Linked DNA regions of Homo sapiens: region 2 is linked to region 1. The links are contacts of gene promoters, found by promoter capture Hi-C in human tissues and cell types (Jung and others, 2019). All regions are on one chromosome and are shown on one strand. The core of a region is centred on a gene start or on the middle of the fragment in contact, and the rest is flanking DNA. Distances in the headings are between cores, read along the strand shown. Region 1 holds the start of CA11 (carbonic anhydrase 11). Region 2 holds the start of SNRNP70 (small nuclear ribonucleoprotein U1 subunit 70).

Region 1 (7,195 bases), core at 266-2,765:
GTCTCGTTAATGTTTGGTGTCAGGCTGGACAAGGTGGCTCACACCTGTAATCCCAGCACTTTGGGAGGCCAAGGCAGGAGGATCCCTTGAGCCCAGGGGTTCCGGACCAGCCTGGGCATCATAGCAAGACTACATCTCTACAAAAAATAATTTTTAAAAATTAGCCTGGCATGGTGGCATGTGCCTGTAGTCCCAACTATTTGGGAGGCTGAGGTGGAAGGAGTGTTTAAGCCCAGGAGGTCGAGGCTGGATCAAGCCATGATCGCACCACTGCTCTCCAGCCTGGGTGACATTGCAAGGCTTGTCTCAAAAAAGAAAATAAAAGAAGACAATGAGCAGTTTCACTACCATTAGACGGGGTGAAAAATAATAAATAACAACAACAACAGTAATATGTGGTCTCTCTGAGGCTGGGTATGGTTGTTCATGCCTGTAATCTCAATGCTTTGGGAGGCCAAGGTGGGAGGATCCCTTGAGGACAGGAGTTTGAGACTAGCCTGAGCAACATAGCATGACCCCATCTCTTCTCCCCAAATACAAAAATGTGGTGTCTCTCTCTGTCTTTGGATCGCTCTTTCTCTCTTTTTGTCTCTCCCCACCCCATCTGCTGCTTGGTCTCTGAGTTTCTGTCTATCTCTAAGTGTGTGTCTCTATGTCTCCATGTCTGTCTCGCTGCGTCTCTGTATCTCCTTTTCTGCCTCTATCTGTATCTCTCTCATTCATTCCTTCCTCTCTCCCTCCCCCTCCTCCTCTCCCTCCTCCCCCTCCTCTCCCTCCCCCTCCTCTCCCTCCTCCCCCTCCTCCTTCACCTCCTCCCCCTCCTCCTCACTCCTGCCTGGCGGTTTGTTCTTGCCTCTCTAACCTTCTGTCCCTCCGCCCTTCCTCTCCGTATCCATCTCAGGCTCCCTTCCCCTCCCCAGCCTACGCAGATGTGGGTCCTCACCTCCCGCTCTCCGCCTCTGCCCTCCCGGCTCCTCCTCCCCGCCCCTCTCTCCCTCGCCAGGTCTCTGCCTCCCCCTCCAGGCGAGCAGCCCTCACTGCACTTCAGGCTCCTAGGGGATCCCCCGGCCCCGTTAAGGCAGCCCCAGGCAGAGACCCAGTGGAGCCCTGGGGCGGGGAAGGGGGGCTGCGGGCGCTGGGGCGGCTCCAACCTGGGTCCCAGCGAGCAGGGGGACCCTGCATCCGCCAAGGCCGGCGGCCCCCAGCATGGAGACTTCCGAAGCCACTCCCAGCTCCACCTTAAGCGCCCCCCCTTCCCCTTGCTGCGGAGGATGGAAACAGCCTGCTCCCGGCCCCAGGTGTCCCGGCCACCCCCGCCCGCGTGGCCCCAGCGCGGCTGGGAGCCGAGGACCAGCCCCCTACCTCCTTCCGAATCCTGCCCTTTCGCACATCCCACCCCAAGCCAACCCGAGGAGTGTTTGCCGCTATGAGATCACCTGCTCCCCCAGCCCAACAACAAAATTAAATAACACCACGGGAGAGGAGAGAGGGAGGGGGAGGAGGGAGGAAGGGACAAGAGAGAAGAGAGACTGAAACAGGGAGAAGAGGCAGGAGAGGAGGAGGTGGGGAGAGCACGAAGCTGGAGGCCGACACTGAGGGAGGGCGGGAGGAGGTGAAGAAGGAGAGAGGGGAGAAGAGGCAGGAGCTGGAAAGGAGAGAGGGAGGAGGAGGAGGAGATGCGGGATGGAGACCTGGAGTTAGGTGGCTTGGGAGAGCTTAATGAAAAGAGAACGGAGAGGAGGTGTGGGTTAGGAACCAAGAGGTAGCCCTGGGGGCAGCAGAAGGCTGAGAGGAGTAGGAAGATCAGGAGCTAGAGGGAGACTGGAGGGTTCCGGGAAAAGAGCAGAGGAAAGAGGAAAGACACAGAGAGACGGGAGAGAGAAGAAGAGTGGGTTTGAAGGGCGGATCTCAGTCCCTGGCTGCTTTGGCATTTGGGGAACTGGGACTCCCTGTGGGGAGGAGAGGAAAGCTGGAAGTCCTGGAGGGACAGGGTCCCAGAAGGAGGGGACAGAGGAGCTGAGAGAGGGGGGCAGGGCGTTGGGCAGGGGTCCCTCGGAGGCCTCCTGGGGATGGGGGCTGCAGCTCGTCTGAGCGCCCCTCGAGCGCTGGTACTCTGGGCTGCACTGGGGGCAGCAGGTAAGACCTGGGGTTCCCGGGAGGAGCCCCCGAGGGAGGGTGGAGGTGGGGATGCCAAGGAGAGGGATTCAGGCTGCTCTCTTCCCAGCTCACATCGGACCAGCACCTGACCCCGAGGACTGGTGGAGCTACAAGGATAATCTCCAGGGAAACTTCGTGCCAGGTGCCGCCAAGGCGGGGACCCAGGAGTCCGGCCCTCCCGGCGCCTCCTTCTTCAGACTCAGGAACCTGGGTTCCCAGCTCCCTCCTCCCCCCCAGGACCAGGAGTCCCAGCCCCCTCCTCTGTCCCTCAGGAGTCGGGCCAGCTTCTGAACCCCAGGGGCTCACCATGGGACATTATACATGCGCATTTCAAGTAGTGAGTGGGAGTGAGTGGAAGGAAAGTGTGGGGGTGGAGATTATGTGTGTGTTTGCCGGGAGAGGAAGGTCCTGGCTCCTGCTAGGAACCAGAGGCTGGGTGGCCCCGTCCCCCACCTTGTCCAGCCTTCTCTTGCAGCTCCTCTCCCCAACACATTAATAATAATCCAGCTGTGGGATAAGAGCGATTAAAAAAAAGAACTACAACTCCCACGGGGCTCTGGGGCAGGTAGGCAGCAGAGGGGTAGGCTGGTAGCACTGGGGCCTGCTGGGAGTTGTAGTTCCATCTACAGTGGCTTAAGATGGGTTTGATCGGCTGGGCGCGGTGGCTCACGCTTGAAATCCCAGCACTTTAGGAGGCCGAGGTGGGTGGATTACCTGTGGTCAGGAGTTCAAGACCAGCCTGGCCAACTTGGTGAAACCCGTCTCTGCTAAACTTGGAAACTATTCCAAGATTCTTCTAGGACCCAGAATTCTGGATCTGAGCCCAGTCCTCCCTCAGACCCAGGAGTCTAGGTCCCTAGCCCCTCCTCCCCTGGGATCTGGGAGTCCAGACCACAGCCCACTCAGCAGATACCAGCCCTGGGATCCAGTCTCTATTTCTGACTCCTTGTCCTCCTACTCCGACCCCACCCCCAGGGCCTCCTTTCTGGGGCCTGGTGAATGCAGCGTGGAGTCTGTGTGCTGTGGGGAAGCGGCAGAGCCCCGTGGATGTGGAGCTGAAGAGGGTTCTTTATGACCCCTTTCTGCCCCCATTAAGGCTCAGCACTGGAGGAGAGAAGGTAAGGGGCTTGGAGGGAGGAGCTATTGAACCCACTGGGGATGGGCATGAATAGAGGCTGGGGAATGGGGTGCTGAGGTAGGAGAGCAGCCTTGGGGGAGGAGGGGACACCCAGTGGGTGGAGAGGAGGCTGCTTACACTGTAAAATGGATCACCCATTCTTCCCATCCCAAGCATGGTCCCCTAGTCTCCCCATCTCTGCAGAAGCAATGAAAAGCAGAACATTTCCTGTGCCAGGCAGATTTAAAACCTTGATAAGCCTCTCATCTCATAACCACCCCACAAAATGGGTACAATTATTATTATTGTTATTATTATTATTATTATTTTGAGATGGAGTTTTGCTCTTGTTGCCCAGGCTGGAGTGCAATGATGTGATCTCAGCTCACTGCAACCTCCACCTCCCAGGTTCAAGCGATTCTCCTGCCCCAGCCTCCCGAGTAGTTGGGATTACAGGCATGCGCACCATCACGCCCAGCTAATTTTTTGTATTTTTAGCAGAGATGGGTTTTCTCCATTTTGGTCAGGCTGGTCTTGAACTCCTGACCTCAGGTGATCCACCTGCCTCGGCCTCCCAAAGTGCTAGGATTACAGGCATGAGCCACTGCGTCCAGCCAAAATGGGTACAATTATTAACCTTATTATATACATGCAGAAACTGACACACAGAGGTTAAGTTACTTGCCTAGGATCACACAGAGAGCCAGCACTGGCATTCAAACCAAGCAGCGTAGCATGAATGCTGGGACCTGCTTTATAGTACCATGCTGGGAACCATACTTTTTTTTTTTTTTTTTGGAATTGGGATCTCACTCTGTGACCCAGGCTGGAGTGCAGTGGCCCAGTCATAGCTCACTGTAACCTCAAATTCCTGGGCCCAAGTGATCTTCCTACCTCAGCCTCAAAAATAGCTAGGACATGCCTGGGTGTGGTGGTTCATGCCTGTAACCCCAGCACTTCGGGAGGCCGAGGTGGGTGGATCACGAGGTTAGGAGTTCGAGATCAGCCTGGCCAACATGGTGAAACCCCATCTCTACTAAAAATACAAAAATTAGCCGGGTGTGGTGGCATGTGCCTGTAATCCCAGCTACTTGAGAGGCTGAGGCAGGAGAATTGCTTGAACCCGGGAGGCGGAGGTTGCAGTGAGCTGACATCACGCCACTGGACTCCAGCCTGGGTGACAGAACAAGACTCCATCTCAGAAAGAAATAAATACAGAGAGAGAGGGAGAGAAAAGAAAGAGAGAGAGCGAGAAAGAAAGAGAGAAAGAGAGAAGGAAGGAAGGAAGGGAAGGAAGGAAAGGAAGGAAGAAGCCAGGACTGCAGGCACATGCCAGTATGCTTGGCTAACTTTTTAAGTTTTTTGTAGAGGTGGGGTCTCACTATGTTGTCCAGGCTGATGTCGAACTCCTGGGTTCAAGTGATCCTCCTTGCCTTGGCTTCCCAAGGTACTGGAATTACAGCTGTGATCCACCGCGCCTGGCCAATACCATTTCTTATAAGAGCCGGCACTGCCTTTCATTTAGCTGCCCCAGCCAAAAGCCTCAAAGCCATTCCCCATCCTATCCTCTCTCCCTCATGTCCATTTCCAATCCATGTTCTTTCTAGCCTTGCTGCTAAATATTATTCAAATCCTTTCACCTATCACGCCCTCTACTGCCCCCAGTCTCATGTAGGCACCATCATCTCCCACCTGGACTGGTGGCGTACCCTCCTCACTGGCCTGCCTCTCAACTTCCTGCAATCTATTCACCCCACAGCTAGAGAGATGTTTAAAACACAAATAAGATCATATCACTCCTGCTCAAAATCCTCCTATTAGGATATGTAATAACAGCAAACATTTACATAGCACTTACTATATGTTTGGCATTCTGGCAAATGTGTTATATATATGCAGTTTATTTATTTTTATTTTATTTTATTTTTTGAGTCGGAGTCTCGCTCTGTCGCCCAGGCTGGAGTGTAATGGAATGATCTCAGATCACTGCAACCTCCGCCTCCTAGGATCAAGCGATTCTCCTGCCTCAGCCTCCCAAGTAGCTGGGATTACAGGCGCCCACCGCCACACCCAGCTGGTTTTTGTATTTTTAGTAGAGATGGGGTTTCACCATGTTGGCCAGGCTGGTCTCAAACTCCTGACCTCTGGTGATCTGCCCACCTCAGCTTCCCGAAGTGCTGGGATTACAGGCGTGAGCCACCACATCCAGCCTATATATGCAGTTTATTTAAATAAAAATACAAAACTCTCTACTGTTTTCCACAAGGTCCTGCACCATTCAGCCCCCATAACCTCTCTCTCCTCTGTTCACTGGACTTTGATGAAGTCTCTTTGCTGTTACTCAAACAGGCCACCTCAGGGCCTTTGCACTTGCTGTTCCCTCTTCTTGGAATGCCCTTCTCTTTGTTCTTTTGCAAGTCACCCCTGCTTATCCTTCAGGTCCCCATTAAAATGTCACCTTTGGCCAGGTGCAGTGCTTCATGCGTGTAATTCCAGTATTTTTCAGAGGCTAAGGCAGGATGATGACTTGAGCCCAGGAATTTAAGACCAGCCTGGGCAACATAGGGAGAACCCTCTCTACCAAAAAAAAAAAAAAAAAAAAAAGAAAATTGAAAATTAGTTGGGCATGGTGGTATGTGACTGTGGTCCCAGCTACTTGAGAGGCTGAGGCAGGAGGATCGTTTGAGCCCAAGAGTTTGAGGCTGCAGTGAGCTGTGATGGCACCACTGCAATCTAGCCTGGGTGCCAGAATGAGACTTTGTCTCAAAATAATAAATAAATAAAAATAAAATGTCACCTTTGCAGGGAAGCTTTTCCTGACATCCCCCATCTAAGCTGAGCTCCCCATGACACCTCAGAGCTCCCAGTTCCCCCAAACATGAGCTCAGGATGTAGTTAATTAAGCAGTTACTTATGTGATTCACAATTGTCTGTCTTGCCTTCATTAGAACATAAACTCCATAAGGCCCAGGACTTTTGTCTACTTGTTTATTGCTCTATTCTTGCATCCACGGCACATAGCACCAGCTCAGTCAATATTTGTTAATCAAACAAATTCACCAATATTGGGCACCAACTTACAAACTGGCACAGAGCCTGGAAAGTGGTCAGTGTTCAAATTATGTTGAATGATTAAATTACTGTTGGAGGCCAGGCACGGTGGCTCACGCCTGTAACCCCAGCACTTTGGGAGGCCAAGGTGGGCAGAACACCTGAGGTCAGGAGTTTGAGACCAGCCTGGCCAACACAGTGAAACCCTGTCTCTACTAAAAATACAAAAATTGGCTGGGTGTGGTGGCACACACCTGTAGTCCCAGCTACTCGGGAGCCTGAGGGAGGAGAATCGCTTGAACCCAGGAGTCAGAGGTTGCAGTGAGGCGAGATCTCACCACTGCACTCCAGCCTCGGCAGCAGAGTGAGATTCTATTTAAAAAAAAAAAAAACAAAAACAAAAAGCCGGGCGCGGTGGCTCATGCCTGTAATCCCAGCACTTTGGGAGGCTGAGGCGGGCGGATCACGAGGTCCGGAGATCCAGACCATCCTGGTTAACACGGTGAAACCCCGTCTCTATTAAAAATACAAAAAATTAGCCGGGTGTGGTGGCGGGCGCCTGTAGTCCCAGCCACTCTGGAGGCTGAGGCAGGAGAATGGCGTGAACCCGGGAGGCGGAGCTTGCAGTGAGCGGAGCTCTCGCCACTGCACTCCAACCCGGGCGACAGAGCGAGACTCCGTCTCCCCCCAGAAAAAAAAAAAAGACCGGGTGCGGTGGCTCACGCCTGTAATCCCAGCACTTTGGGAGGCTGAGGCGGGTGGATCACCAGAGGTCGGGAGTTTGAGACCAGCCTGACCAACGTGGAGAAACCCTGTCTCTACTAAAAATAAAAAATTAGCCGGGCATGGTGGCGCATGCCTGTAATCCCA
Region 2 (6,760 bases), core at 913-3,412, 440 kb before region 1:
TAAAAACACAGAGGTCCAGGAGCCTAAGTCATTCATTCCTATTTATCCCAAAGGTGCAGAGCTAAGATCCCCATCTGCAGTTTTAAGCCCTCCAATACTCAATACTGGGTGCTAAGCCTTTATGAACATCATCTTATTAACAATAAAAGTAGTAAACAGAGTAACAAAGGCTGACATGTGCTGACTGCTTGGTGCCAAGCCCCCTGACATACAGTTTGCCATTTAATTCTCCACCAACATTATAAGGGTGCTACCACTATCCCCTTGCTAAAGATAAAGAAACCAATGCATTAAGAGGATACAACATTTGCCCAAAGTCAGAGCTGATAAATGGTGTGGGTTAGGCATGAATCCTCAACCACTACTCACTGAATTTTCACAAAAATTCTACAAAAGGTGTACTATCAACCCCACTTTTTTTTTTTTTTTTTTTTTGAGACAGTCTTGTTCTGTTGCTCAGGATGGAGTGCAGTGGCGCGATCTCGGCTCATTGCAACCTCCGCCTCCTGGGTTCAAGTGATTCCCGTGCCTCAGCCTCCCAAGTAGCTGGAATTACAGGCACCATGTCCGGCTAATTTTTGTTATTTTTAGCAGAGACGTGGTTTCACCATGTTGGCCAGGCTGGTCTTCAACTCCTCACCTCAAGTGATCCGCCTGCCTCGGTCTCCCAAAGTACTGGGATTACAGGCGTGAGCCACCGTACCGGGCCACAACCCCACTTAAAAAAAAAATTTTTTTTTTGAGAGACGAAGTCCTGCTCTGTCACCCAGGCCGGAGTATAGTGGCACAATCACAAAGCACTCCAGCCTCCGACTCCTGGGCTCAAGCAATCCTCCCACCTCAGCCTCCTGAGTAGCTGAGACTACAGACGCACTCGACCACACCCGACACCCGGCTCCAACCCCATTTAAAACAGAGAAACTGAGGATCACAAAGGTTAAGCCCCTCGCTTAAATCACGCAGCTGGCAAAATGGCCAGAAGCTGGACTCGCAAATCCAACCCGTTGCTCCCCAGAACCCAAACCATTCCTGGCCTGCTCAGTGAACTCACCTCAAACTCTCGAATGTACGGCGCAATGCCACAATAAGGTTGATTGTGGTGTTTTTCATGTGGCAGTTTCTCCAGGGGTGGCAGGTATGGAATAGGGTCACGGGGGGCAAAGAGGGCCAGAAGGTTGGGCGGCAGGAACTGGGTCATCTTGCCAAGTCTGAGAGCAGAAGCAGGACAGCCTTAGGTTAGATCGGGTCTGCACAGAGAAAGCCCCTGTTACTCCTTGACTCTCAAAATAAGAAAGACAGGAGAAAAGTCTCGGAATTAAAACAGGCTCTGTAAGGGCAGAGAACAGTCCTGTGTTGCGGAGAAAAGGGTACGTCTTGGTGGGGGTGGAGGTGAAAGGCCGGTAAAGAAAACAAAAATAACGGCTGGAAAAGGGTTCCTGAAGAGTGAAGTCTCAGAGTCCTCTGACACGAGCTGTGGGGCGGAGAGGTTCCCTGGGAATTTCTGGGGAAATCAAGGACCCGAGGAGGGAGGCCCAGAGCAGCTGTGGCTGCTCGTCCCGTGCCGTGGAGGGCAAATTACGAGATGCAGTTTGCAGGGTCCTGGGGATCGGAAGTTTCCAAGCAAAGAAAGAGAAACATAAGGAGCGAAGCCCCAAAACCAAGTGCTTGTGGGTAACAGACCTGGACCCCGCAAAAAGCGAAAGGAATTATGGGTAAGGGTCCAGGACAACATAGACAAACGAAAAAGAAAAAAGGCCACACACCGCAAGGGCCTGTGGGTAGGGAACCACGAGGGCGCTGTGGGAAGCGGGCGTGGGTGCCCAGAGATTTCGGGGTCCGGGAAAGGGATGCAGAAGGGACCTGTGGCGGGGACGCGGGAAAGGGGCCTGGCCGCGGGGAAGAGGACCGGGCCCACCGCTGGGGCTTCTGGGTAGCGGCCCCGCACCCCGTCGGGCCACTCAGTCACACTCACTCACCGCGTAGCGCCCTCCTCGCTCTGGCGTCTGTCCGGAGGCTCGCGGCGGCTGCGGCAGCCCCTCAGCAACAACAACTCCTGCTTCGGCTTCCACTCCGGGGGCGTCCACGTCCGTCTGATTCCGTCGCCCGCTAAGCGAGCGCACCAGGCCGCTGCTCAGCCACCCGCGCGGCCTCCGATAGCGACTGGAGCAGGGGGTGGGTCCCGGCCGCAAATCCCTCCGCCGTCCTCACTGCGCACGCGCCGTGCGGTGCCAACAACAACCCACACACTAGGACCCGGCGCTGCCGCGGGCACAGCGCACGCGCGAGGTCACTACCCCGCCTTTGGGCACCTTGAGTACCTCAGCCGCGGGGGGCTGGCTTCTGCACTGCGCGCGCGCGCTTGCCCCAAGCCGCCCCTCCACCTCCCGCTTTCCGCGCCGAACCGCCTATGTCCGCGAGACTCTCCCTGATGCTCCGCCCCTTTCCGATCACACTTCCCGGATCTTTCGCGCATGCGTTTTGCGTAGAGAACTGTAACGTACCTCTCCGCCGCCTAGCAAAGAGTCCCTAGGTGAACAGCCTGATTGCGTTGATGTCTAATCTATTCAATCAATAACTATTCATCGAGCATCTCGTGTGTGCTAGGCACTGTCTGGGCTTTGGGGGTACAGCACGTGATTAAAGCAAAGTCTTCTGCTGCTAGGGCTTACATTGTACTGGGAGAGACAATAAAAGCATTTAACTGAATAAAGATAATTTGAGGCCAGGCGCGGTGGATCACGCCTGTAATCCCAGAACTTTTGGGAGGCTGAGGCGGGCAGATCACCTGAGGTCAGGAGTGTGAGACCAACCTGACCAACATGGTGAAAGCCCGTCTCTACTAAAAATACAAAAATTAGCCGGGCGTGGCCGTGCGCGCCTGTAAGCCCGGTTACTCTGGAGGCTGAGGCGGGAGAATCGCTTGAACTCGGGAGGCGGAGGTTGCAGTGAGCCGAGGTCGTGCCATTGCACTCCAGCCTGGGCGACAGAGCGACTCCGTCTCAAAAGTAAATAAATAAATAAATAATAAAAGATAATTTGAGATAGTGGCCAGCATAATGAAGAACGATGGAGCAGAATAAAGGGATGGGAAGTGAGAGCGAGGCTGTTTTAGAAAGGGTGATAATGGAAGGCCCCTCTGAAGAGGTAACATTTGAATAAAGGACAGATAGAAGCGAGATCTGGGGTGGGGCCGGGGGGGCGGTGTTTAACAGTAAGTGCAAAGGTCCTGAACTGAGACCAGATGGCAGGAATCTCAGGTTGTTGGCCATGAGATCAGAGAGCTGGCACTTGTTATTTAGAGCCCTGTTCTTAAGTATTGTATCTTAAGTTTTGTGGATGGATTCAATAGCCTGTTTAATAACTACAGAAATTATTGCAAATTAAAATGACTAATTTTATGTTTCAAGAAAAAGGCCGAGTGCAGTGCTCACGCCTGTAATCCCAGCACTTTGGGAGGCCAAGGCGGGCAGATCACCTGAGGTCAATAGTTCGAGACCAGACTGATCAACATGGAGAAACCCCGTCTCTACTAAAAATACAAAATTAGCTGGGCATGGTGGCACATGCCTATAATCCCAGCTACTTGAGAGGCTGAGGCAGGAGAATCACTTGAACCTGGGAGGCAGAGGTTGTGGTGAGCCAAGATGGCACCATTGCACTCCAGCCTGGGAGACAAGAGCAAAACTCCGTCTCAAATAAAAAAAAGAAGTGGGAGGATCGTTTGAGCCGAGAAAGTTGAGGCTGCAGTGAGCCAAGATTGTGCCACTAGACTCCAGCCTGGGCGACAGAGCGAGACTCCGTCTCAAAAAAAAAAAAAAAAAAAGAAAGAAAAGGGCTGGGTGTGGTGGCTCACACCTGTAATCCCAGCACTTTGGGAGGCCGAGGTGGGCGGATCACCTGAGGTCAGGAGTTCGAGACCAGCCTGGCCAACATGGTGAAATCCCATCTCTACTAAAAATACAAAAATTAGCTGGGAGTGGTGGCACGCACCTGTAATTCCAGCTACCTGGGAAGCTGAGGCAGGAGAATTGCTTGAACCCGGGAGGCAGAGATTGCACGACTGCACTCCAGCCTGGGCAACAGAGTGAGAATCTGTCTCAAAAAAACAAATAAAATAGGCCGGGTGTGGTGGCTCACACCTGTAATCCCAGCACTTTGGGAGGCCAAGGTAGGAGGATCCCTGAGATCAGGAGTTCAAGACCAGCCTGGGCAACATGGCGAAACCCCTTCTCTACTAAAAATACAAAAATTAGCTGGACATGGTGGCATGCACCTGTAATCCCAGCTACTTTGAAGGCTAAGGCAGGAGAATCGCTTGAATCTGGGAGGTGGAGGTTGCAGTGAGCTGAGACTGTGCAACTGCACTCCAGCCTGGACAGAGCAAGACTCTATCTCAAAAAATAATAATGATGGCTGGGCACGGTGGCTCACACCTGTAATCCTGGCACTTTGGGAGGCTGAGGCAGGCAGATCATGAGGTCAAGAGATCGAGACCATCCTGGCCAACATGGTGAAACCCTGTCTCTACTAAAAATACAAAAATTAGCTGGGTATGGTGGCACGTGCCTGTTGTCCCAGCTACTTGGGAGGCTGAGGCAGGAGAATTGCTTGAACCCAGGAAGCAGAGGTTGCGGTGAGCCAGGATCGTGCCACTATACTCCAGCGTGGCAACAGAGCGAGACTTTGTCTCAAAACAACAACAATAAAAATAAAATAATAATAATAATAAAATAAAAGGGAGAAATCTGCCAAAGGAAAGGGACAATAGGCTTAACAGAAGTCTGAAACACAGCAGAGAAGACATTAAACTTTAAAGCTCTAGCCTGGCACAGTGGCTCACACCTGTCATCTCAGCACTTTGGGAGGCCGAGGTGGATGGATCACGAGGTCAGGAGTTCAAGACCAGCCTGGCCAAGATGGTGAAACCTCATCTCTACTAAAAATACAAAAATTAGCCAGGTGTGGTGGCAGGTGCCTGTAATCCCAGCTACTCAGGAGGCTGAGACAGAAGAATTGCTTGAACTCGGGAGGCGAAGGTTGTCGTGAGCCAAGATTGCACCACTACACTCCAGCCTGAGCAACAGAGAAAGACTCTGTCTCAAAACAAAAACAAAAACAAAAAAAAACTTTAAAGCTCCAAAATAATCCCTGATTCCATGTTCTGCATCCAAGGCACACTGGTGCAAGGAGTGGGCTCCCAAAGTCTTGGGCAGCAAAGTCCAGCCCCAATGTCTCCTCACACAGGTTGGAGTTTAGTGCCTGCAGCTGTTGTAGGCTCAGGGTGCAATCTGCTGGCAGACCTGTCACTCTGGGATCTAGAGAGGAGGGGTCCCCTTCTCACAGCTCCACTAGGCAGCGCCCTGGTGGGGACTCTATGTTAGGCCTCCAACCCCACCTTTCCCCCTTGGCACTGTCCTAGTAGAGGCTCTCTGTAGGGACTCCAACCATGCAGCCGACTTCTGCCTGGACACCCAGGCTTTCCTACACATCCTCTGAAATCCAGGTGGGAGCTGCTAAGCTTCCTTCACTCTTGCATTCTGTGCACCTGCAGGCTTAATCCCACATGAAAGCTGCCAAAGTTTATGGCTTGCACCCTCTGGAGTGGTGGCCCAAGCTGTACTTGGGACCCTGTGTGTCATGGCTGGTGATCGAACAGCAGGGATGCAGGGGAGCAGTGTCCCCAGGCTGAGCAGGAGACAGGGCCCTGGATCTGGCCCAGTAAACCACTCTTTCCTTATATGCCTCAGAGCCTGTGATGGGGGAGGCTGTTTTGAAGACTCCTGAAATGCCTTCAAGGCCTTTTTCCCATTGTCTTGGATGTTAGCACTTGGCTTCCTTTTAGTCACGCAACCTCTCCAGCAAGGCAATACAGCCTGCTTCTATTTCTCTCCTAAAAAATGCTCTTCCCTTCTCTACCACATTGCCAGGTTGTGACTTTTCTAAACTTTTATGCTGTGCTTCCTATTTATTGATTGATTTTTCAGAGACAGGGTCTCACTGTGTCACTCAGGCTCATGTGCAGTGGCTATTCATAGGCATGATCCCACTCCTGATCAACATGGGAGTTTTGACCTGATCCATTTCCAGCCTAGGTCAGTTCAACCCCTGCTAGGCAACCTGGTAGTCTCCCACGCATGGGAGGTTACCATATTGAAGCCAAACTTAGTATGGACACCTAATCAGCATAACACACTACAGCCCAGAACTTCCTGGGCTCAAACAATCCTTCTGCCTCAGCCTCCAAGTAGCTGGGACTACAGGCATGTGCCACAGAGCCTGGCTGCCTCTCTTTATTTATTTATTTATTTAAGACAGAGTCTTGCTCTGCCACCCAGGCTGGAGTGCAGTGGCGCAATCTCGATTCACTGCAAGCTCCGCCTCCCAGGTTCATGTCATTCTCCTGCCACAGCCTCCTGGGTAGCTGGGACTACAGGCGCCTGCCACCACACTCGGCTAATTTTTTGTATTTTTAGTAGAGACGGGGCTTCACTGTGTTAGCCAAGATGGTCTTGATCTCCTGACCTCGTGATCCGCCTGTCTTGGCCTCCCAAAGTGCTGGGATTACAGGCGTGAGCCACCGCACCTGGTCCAGAACATCCCTTTTTAAGAATGAAAACTTGCCAGGCACGGTGGCTTACGCCTGTAATCCCAGCACTTTGGAAGGCCGAGGTGGGTGGATCACCTGAGATCAGGAGTTCAAGACCAGCCTGGCCAACACAGTGAAACCCTATCTCTACTAAAAATACAAAAATCAGCCAGG

The links. The method cuts DNA at HindIII sites, captures the fragments that hold promoters and counts their contacts. A contact is called where the count stands out against the background at its distance.
Region 2: a contact is called between the fragment with the promoter of SNRNP70 here and the fragment with the promoter of CA11 in region 1, in 1 of the 25 tissues and cell types used here (lymphoblastoid cells).

Annotation. Positions count from the first base shown.
Region 1 is chr19:48,640,507-48,647,701 of GRCh38, reverse strand. It overlaps CA11 (carbonic anhydrase 11), which reads left to right and starts at 1,515. Exons shown (of 9, transcript NM_001217.5): 1 at 1,515-2,136; 2 at 2,225-2,299; 3 at 3,133-3,275. The coding sequence starts at 2,070. It also overlaps the pseudogene SEC1P. RefSeq lists silencers at 897-1,306, 1,337-1,526 and enhancers at 1,484-2,184, 2,185-2,885, 2,886-3,587. The HindIII fragment of the contact is 19,792 bases long and covers 1-7,195 here.
Region 2 is chr19:49,080,853-49,087,612 of GRCh38, reverse strand. It overlaps SNRNP70 (small nuclear ribonucleoprotein U1 subunit 70), which reads right to left and starts at 2,162. Exons shown (of 10, transcript NM_003089.6): 1 at 1,977-2,162; 2 at 1,052-1,208. The coding sequence starts at 1,198. It also overlaps the pseudogene RN7SL708P. RefSeq lists enhancers at 1,977-2,066, 2,417-2,486. The HindIII fragment of the contact is 18,802 bases long and covers 1-6,760 here.